2 separate regions of the Homo sapiens genome follow, and region 1 is linked to region 2. The links are contacts of gene promoters, found by promoter capture Hi-C in human tissues and cell types (Jung and others, 2019). All regions are on one chromosome and are shown on one strand. The core of a region is centred on a gene start or on the middle of the fragment in contact, and the rest is flanking DNA. Distances in the headings are between cores, read along the strand shown.

Evidence for each region. The method cuts DNA at HindIII sites, captures the fragments that hold promoters and counts their contacts. A contact is called where the count stands out against the background at its distance.
Region 1: a contact is called between the fragment with the promoter of SCAPER here and the fragment with the promoter of UBE2Q2 in region 2, in 2 of the 25 tissues and cell types used here (IMR-90 fibroblasts and hippocampus).

What each region holds. Positions count from the first base shown.
Region 1 is chr15:76,902,998-76,906,729 of GRCh38, forward strand. It overlaps SCAPER (S-phase cyclin A associated protein in the ER), which reads right to left and starts at 2,343. Exons shown (of 32, transcript NM_020843.4): 1 at 2,302-2,343. RefSeq lists silencers at 1,919-1,998, 2,019-2,128, 2,139-2,448 and an enhancer at 2,189-2,689. The HindIII fragment of the contact is 13,869 bases long and covers 1-3,732 here.
Region 2 is chr15:75,842,197-75,845,456 of GRCh38, forward strand. It overlaps UBE2Q2 (ubiquitin conjugating enzyme E2 Q2), which reads left to right and starts at 1,251. Exons shown (of 13, transcript NM_173469.4): 1 at 1,251-1,650. The coding sequence starts at 1,471. RefSeq lists silencers at 832-1,011, 1,052-1,191, 1,332-1,411, 1,662-2,061 and an enhancer at 1,333-2,230. The HindIII fragment of the contact is 12,421 bases long and covers 1-3,260 here.

The sequences.
Region 1 (3,732 bases), core at 1,093-3,592, 1.1 Mb after region 2:
TTGCAGTGAGCCAAGATTGCGCCACTGCACTCCAGCCTGGGTGACAGAGTGAGACTCGGTTTCAAAAAAAAAAAAAAGAAAGTGAAAGAAATGACAGAATCTCAAGTCCCTTCATCTTACTTATCTTTAAAACATTCCTGCAGCTAAATGAAGACATTAATGACCTTAATATCAATCTTTTAGGAGTTCTTAAAATACCTATGAAGCACCAATGGCAAACATTTTTAAAGTCTGTTTAGAATACTATATCCTTTGGACCAGTCACCAAAATTTATTTATAAACACATTTGTACAGTACTGCTGATTACACTTCCATGGTTATTTGACCTGAACAACCAAGTGATTAACCATAATGCTATGGTCTGCATGTTTGTGTTCTTCAAAATTCTTGTGGAAATCCTAGTTTCCAAGGTCATATCAGGAGGTGGGGCCTTTGGGAGATGACTGTATTATGAAAGCAGAACCTTAATGAATGGGATAAATTCCCTTATAAGAGGCCAGAGAGAGACCCCTTCACCCTTGCACCATGTAAGGAGACAGCTAGAGGGTGCCATCTATTAACCAGAAAGCAGGCTATCACCAAACACTGAATCATCAGACATCTTGATCTAGGACTTCCCAGCCTCCAAAACTGCAAGAAATGAATTTCTGTTGTTTATAAGCCACTCAGTCTGAGGTATTTTGCTATACCAGACCCAAATGGACCAAAGACACATAGAGTATATTTTTAATGCAGCTCAAGGGAGTGTGGAGAAAGAAGGAAAAGAGCATTTGTTGAGGGCTTACCATGGGCTAGGAACAGTTCTCAATACTTTACAGACACCTAATTTATTACTATCAACAAAATTATGAGGTGGATATTATTCCTACTTTACAGATAAGAAAGGCTCAGAAAAATTAATTTGCCAAAAACAAGGGTTGGGGCTGAGATTCAAACTCAAAACAGTCTGCCTTCAAAGCCATCAGATTACTTCTCCCACAGACAACCTTCCAAATCACATTAAAACTTGACTCTTTGATTGATTAAAAATATTAATTCTTTAGTGGATATCATTCTTCAAGTGGCATAAATCATCTGCAACCAACAAACTTTGAGGAAAAGTCATAGTTAACAGAAATAACAGAAGGGAAAGAGCACCAGTATAGGCCAGAGTGGGACAGTGGTCAGACTACCAACCTTAGGTCAGAAAACTTAACCCCAGATTTACCACTCACCAGCTGGTGATCTAAGGCAAGTAATAACCTTTTGAGCCCCCGTTTCTCCATTCATAAAATAAGTATTACTCCTAGCCCATCCATCCTTCTACCAGATTATTTATGAAGATGAAAAGTTAATGATGAAATTAATCCATAAACTAAGACAAACTATAATTCATATAAGGAATTAGTATCTGTTCGGTAAAATGACTATTAATGAATAGCTATTTTCATGGAAAATAACTTGTCACAACTAGAATAAGAGATGCAGTCCACCAGCAACAGGAAGCTGCTCACAAACAGGCGGCCTCATCTCAGCTGGGGCCCCCTTAACAGCAGCAGGTGTTGCTTACAGGACCAGTTTTGTGCCTGCTTTCTAACAATCCCGTTCCTCCCTGGTGCCGTTCCCACGAACGCGCCTGGAAAACGGTGTAGAGGAAAGGCGCCAAGGAAGTGCTGTTTTGGAAAAGAGCAGCAACAGAGGCAGGAGGCTGGGTCCCACTACTCCCAGGTGCGAGAGGCTCTTCGCCCCTCCAGGCCTCAGCGCACGCATCTGGAAGACGGAGAGGCCATTCCTGCCCCGTTTCCTGGGCAGAGCTAAGATCAGAGTACAGGGAAAGCATGGTAAACCCCGCTGGGAATGACAGATGACGAAGACGATCACCTGTCAAACGAAGGGAGGCTCCTCCAGGGGCCCCTCGCATTTAGACATTCCAGAAGCCTCGTCACCCGCGGCCGGGGCTGCCCCCAAGTGAGGTGACGCGGCAGCCCCCCACTCACCCCTCAGACCGCGTAGTGTGCGGGGTCTCACGTCCCTCACACCCCAGATGAGCCCGCAGGGCAGGGCCCGGACGCGGCTCACCCCAGCCCCCGTCCCGAGGCCTCCGAGGCCGACCTCCGAGCCCTCCCCAGGCGACCGCGGCTCCCCTCCCCCAGCAACGATCCCTGCCCCGCTCAACTCGCACTCCCAGGTGAGGGGAGGGGGTGAAAGGGCGTACCCCGCCGCCATTTTGTCCCCTGGTCCCCGCAAGGCATTCAGACGGCCCGCGCCCCAACCCGGACCCGCCCGGGTCTGCGCTACGCACGCCCCTCGCGGACACTCACCCCCGACCGCCCTGCTTAGTTCGGGGCGGCTCAAAGCGTCCCGCCGGGAAAGGGGCGTGACGGGGCGGGGCAGGGAGGCCTCGGAGAGGCGGGGTGGCTTCCCGGCGCACCACGTGATCTCAGCCGCTGCCGCGCCGCTCCCGGCTGCAAGATCTGTGTTGTCCGCGCGCAGGCGCACGCCCGTTCGCGCCGTTGGGGCGCCCAGGCGGGAGGTGTGAGGGTTGATTTGGTTCGATGTCCCGGCGCGGCGTTTCCGAAGCTGTTTCTTTTCCTAGGTTAAGCTTACACCGCCGCTTTTGGCCACACAGGTCTTTCTCGTACTCAATCTCTTCCCTCCTCCTGCCTTATCACCACAGTCAATCCACAGATTAAGGACTTAGAGACGCGCCTCACAGAAATCTGTGCTGGCGAAAGCACTTGACAGGAGCACGCTGGGCTGCGCTGAACACAACTAGGCCTCCGAGAAGCTTTATCAGGGCCCTTCTGTGTGCCAGGCTTGGAAGGTCGAAGTACAGAGACCTAACAAATACGTTTCATCTACTTCAAAGACAAACATATGATGAATTAAATACTTTAACGTTTAAATCAGTCTGAACAAAATAGAAAAAAGATTCAATGCAGACTGTAATTATCAAACGAATATTCACCGTCCCTTTTCATCCAGCTGGGAAACAGCTCTTTACCCTTCCCTCTCCCTCCCCACCCGCAGTAGGCGGGAAGTCCTGGACTCACAAGCGTTGTGGGGGCAGGAACCATATGGCTATGTTCTGGCTCCCCTTCTCTCTTGCCTTCTTAGAAAACTCGCTTTTTCATTTATTCAGCAAATGTTTATTGACCACATACTATATATCAGATGGTATTCTAGATGCTTGGAGTTAATACGTGAGCAAAATAAACAGAAATCTCTAAAAAACCTCCGGCTTCTTGGAGCAGGGTGAAACCAGGCAAGTGTTACATCAAGTTTAGCCAAAAGCTGTGTCCTTACATATTTTAAGTTCAGCCTGAAGGTTTCTCCGTAAATAGTAAACTATAACCTAAATGGAGGTGTAAATACACTGCAACCTACTCTTGCGCCAATCACCAAGTTTTGGCCAAAGACGGCCAACTGTTCAAACCGTGTTCAAATAAGGTAAACGTCTAGCTATAACCATTCTGGCTGTTTCCCTACCTCACTTTTCTTTCTCTGTCTATAAACCTTTTTCCACCATGTGGCTCTGCGGGAGTCTGTATGAACCTACTCTGGCTCAGGAGGCTGCCTGATTCGGGAATAATTCTTTGCTCAAACTCTGTTTAATTTGGCTAATATTTTGCTTTTAACACAAGAAATAGTAAACACAATAAATAAGTAAATTATATAACATGATAAGCACTACAGTTAACAAAATGAGTAGGATAAGGGGGATAGAGTAGGGAGCATACTACAATTCTATA
Region 2 (3,260 bases), core at 1-2,500:
TGGGAGCACTGTGCAACTACATAGGTTGGACGCATATGCAGCTGGTCCTGCCTCTTGCACTTACGATTGCACACACTATTGTCTGCCAAATTGGGATGTATTCCTTTGGACTGCTATCCAGACCTTTATTCATTTTTTGAGCACCTACAATGTGCCAGGAATTGTGCTAGTGGTGGGGATTCCAGATAAGAGCGAGCATTCAATTCAATCATATCGGGTTTCTACTATATAACAGGTCTTGTTCTAGGTCCTGGGGATACAGCTCTGAACACATTAACACGGGGCAGAGACAAGGAATAAATGGGTTAAAGATCAGATAGTGACAGGTGCCCAACAAAAACTTAGCACAGGACGATGTGACACAGGGTGACTATTTGAAATGGGTTGTGGTGGGGGGTGCCGGAGATGATATTTGAGCTATGAGTTTAGTGAAAATAGTGGGCAGCCCTAGCTCCATGGGGGTGTGGGTGGGGAGGGTTATCTTAAGCTTGGGAAACAAGGCAAAATAAGGAAAGGGGGGAGAGAGAGACTATATACGGCAGAGTGAACACAGGTGGTAGCTAAGGGAAGGGATGAAATCATGGGACACCTCCAGGCAACAGCCTCCAGGGGCTAAACCATCGTCTTGGGTAAATGGATGGTTTGAGAGCAAAGGCGGGAGCAGCGAGTCCGGTGAGAAGGTCCTCACAGGAACCCAGGCTGGTGAGAAGGTCCTCACAGGAACCCAGGCTAGCGAAGCGGTGGCTCGGACTAGGGTGAAAGTAGCGGAGGTAACGCTGGGTGAGCCGCACCCGCGTCTCCCACGAGGTCCCCCCAGTGAGGTTAGCGGGTGCCGCGCCGAGCGCCAAGCTGAGGAGCCGCCCCCAGGGGCTGGCGCTAGTCTGCAGCGGCGCCGACGTGGCCGGCGCGATCCGCCACGCACGTGTCCGGCTCCAGGCCGGGGGCGGGGGCGCGCGGGGGTCTCCGGCTCCTCCCCGACTTCTGGGGCCCGGGCGCCAGCTGGCCCCGAGCCTCCAGTCCGCGGGTGCGAAGAACGGAGCAGATGGGTCGGGAACAAGGGAGCTGGGTCAAGGCGAGGAGGGGGCGGCCGGGCGCGCGCGCTCTGGCCTCGTGCACGCGCTGAAACCGGAGCGCGCAGGGCGCGCCAGGGTGAGGGGGACGGGGGCGGGGTGGGGGCAGCCCTTTCCCAGGCGGTAGCGGGGGCGGCGTCGCTGTTGCCCTTTTAAGCCGCGGGGCCGCCGCCTCCTGCCGCTGGAGTCGGTTACAAAGGAAGCGCCACCCAGGCCGCCACACGCCGAGGCTTCCGCGCCCCTCGCCATTTTCCAGCAGCGCTCGACGAGGCGGAGCCGCGAGAGCGCGGCCCAGGCCGGCCCCGCGGGGCGGTCGCGGCCGTGACGGCGGCTCCGGGCCCGGCTCCCCTTCCGCGCCCGGCTCCCCTTCCGCGCCCCTCCCGCCGGAGATGAGGGGAAGATGTCCGTGTCAGGGCTCAAGGCCGAGCTGAAGTTCCTGGCGTCCATCTTCGACAAGAACCACGAGCGATTCCGCATCGTCAGTTGGAAGCTGGACGAGCTGCACTGCCAGTTCCTGGTGCCGCAGCAGGGCAGCCCGCACTCGCTGCCGCCGCCACTCACGCTCCACTGCAACATCACGGTGAGGCGCCCGGCCGCGGCCCCGCGGGGCAGGGCGAGGACGGAGAGGGGGCGCTTCGAGTCCCGGGACAAAGGGGAGCCTGCCCCGGAGAGGCTCCGGCTCCCCGGGCGGGGCAGGCCCGCCCCTTTCCCCCGCGACTTGCCCATCCCAGGCCGGGCTGGGACTGCGCGAGGCTTGGGTGGGAGGAGGCGGAGGGCGCGTCTTTCCGGCTTCTCGCCAGGGGCTGGCTTGGGGGCTTCTGGCCCATCTCGGTCCCCGTCTCCTAGCCCCGAGGGGGGAGTCCGCGGCGGCCCAAGCCCTTGTGGGGTCCATGGCCGCCCTCAGCCGGCCTGCTCCCGGGACCGGGGCGGGGCGGGGCGGGGCGGCGCAGCTCCGGCTGTTGTTTGAGCCCAGGCCGGCAAGGGGAACGGCCCTTAAGTTTTAACGCCTCATTTTTCAGTCGGATTTTCCTTCTTCCCGCTTGTTCAGCCAATTGTTTTTAAGTTTGCGTTTAAGGAGAAACTGACAATGAGAATGGACTCGTTGACGGAGGAAAAGTTGGAATGCAGACTCTGGTGCTGTTTGAGCGACCCCTCTCCCCCGGGCCTGGCTGCGCGCTGCTGTGTTCTGGAAAGGAGCATAGTACCGTCGTTGCGGCAGGTGGTGTTGAGTGTGTATTCGTGTGGCCCCTCCCTTGTGTGTAAGCCTCGAAAATGGATAGGTGAAAGGAGATACGCGCCAGGGCTGCTCCCCGGAAAGATCACGTATGTCACAAAGCCGAAAAGACACTTTTAAAAACTCACTCATTAAGCGGAAATCTCATTAGAAACCCAAGGCTTGGTAAAGGAATTGAAGTATTAAGTTTCTCCATAAAAGTGTATCGTGAAGCTATTCGTCGTGAAATTGATGTAGGATATTGGTCCAAACTGCAGAATATTCTCTTGGTTATAATAGGCGTCAAGGTGGTGGCTTCGGGCTCCTTTTCAAACATGGCTAAAACCAAGTCTTGTTTTTAACTCCCTTTGGTTGAGTCAGTGGGTACTCAAGTGCCTGCAGGGTGGCTGGCGTTTGCAAAAACCTTGATGTTATAATTGACCTTAAAATGGTTACCAGACTATCTGGGCAGAAGGTGTGTTAATTTCAAAAAAAAAAAGACAAGTGCTGTACTGAGGAGATAATTCATTTATTGAATGAATACGTCTGAGTGTTCTGGGCACTAGTGTTGCAGAATTGAGTGAAGTCGTCCTCGCTCTCAGAACTCAGTCTTCTTGGGGGAAGAGTTCAATAAGGTGACAGCTCCTGTGGTATCATCAGGAAAGCCAAAGCAACTAATTTTGACTTGGGGGAGGTGCGCTTCAGGGAAGGCTTTGATGAGAGGCTGAGACAGTTAGAGATGAGCTTCCACAGGTGACTACAATTTTGGAAGGCTGGCGGAAGGGCATTTTAGACTGAGGAAACTCCACCCAAAGAAGACACGGAGATTTGAGAAAGTGTGGTTTCCTTAGAAGTAGAAAATTTATGCTAAGACTTGAGAAGCCCACGATACAGGCTGGAGAAGGGGAGGATTTTCCAAGAGTGGAAAACAGAAAGTGTAGTAGTTGTCATGAAGCAGGTGTTTTAAGGAGACGGGC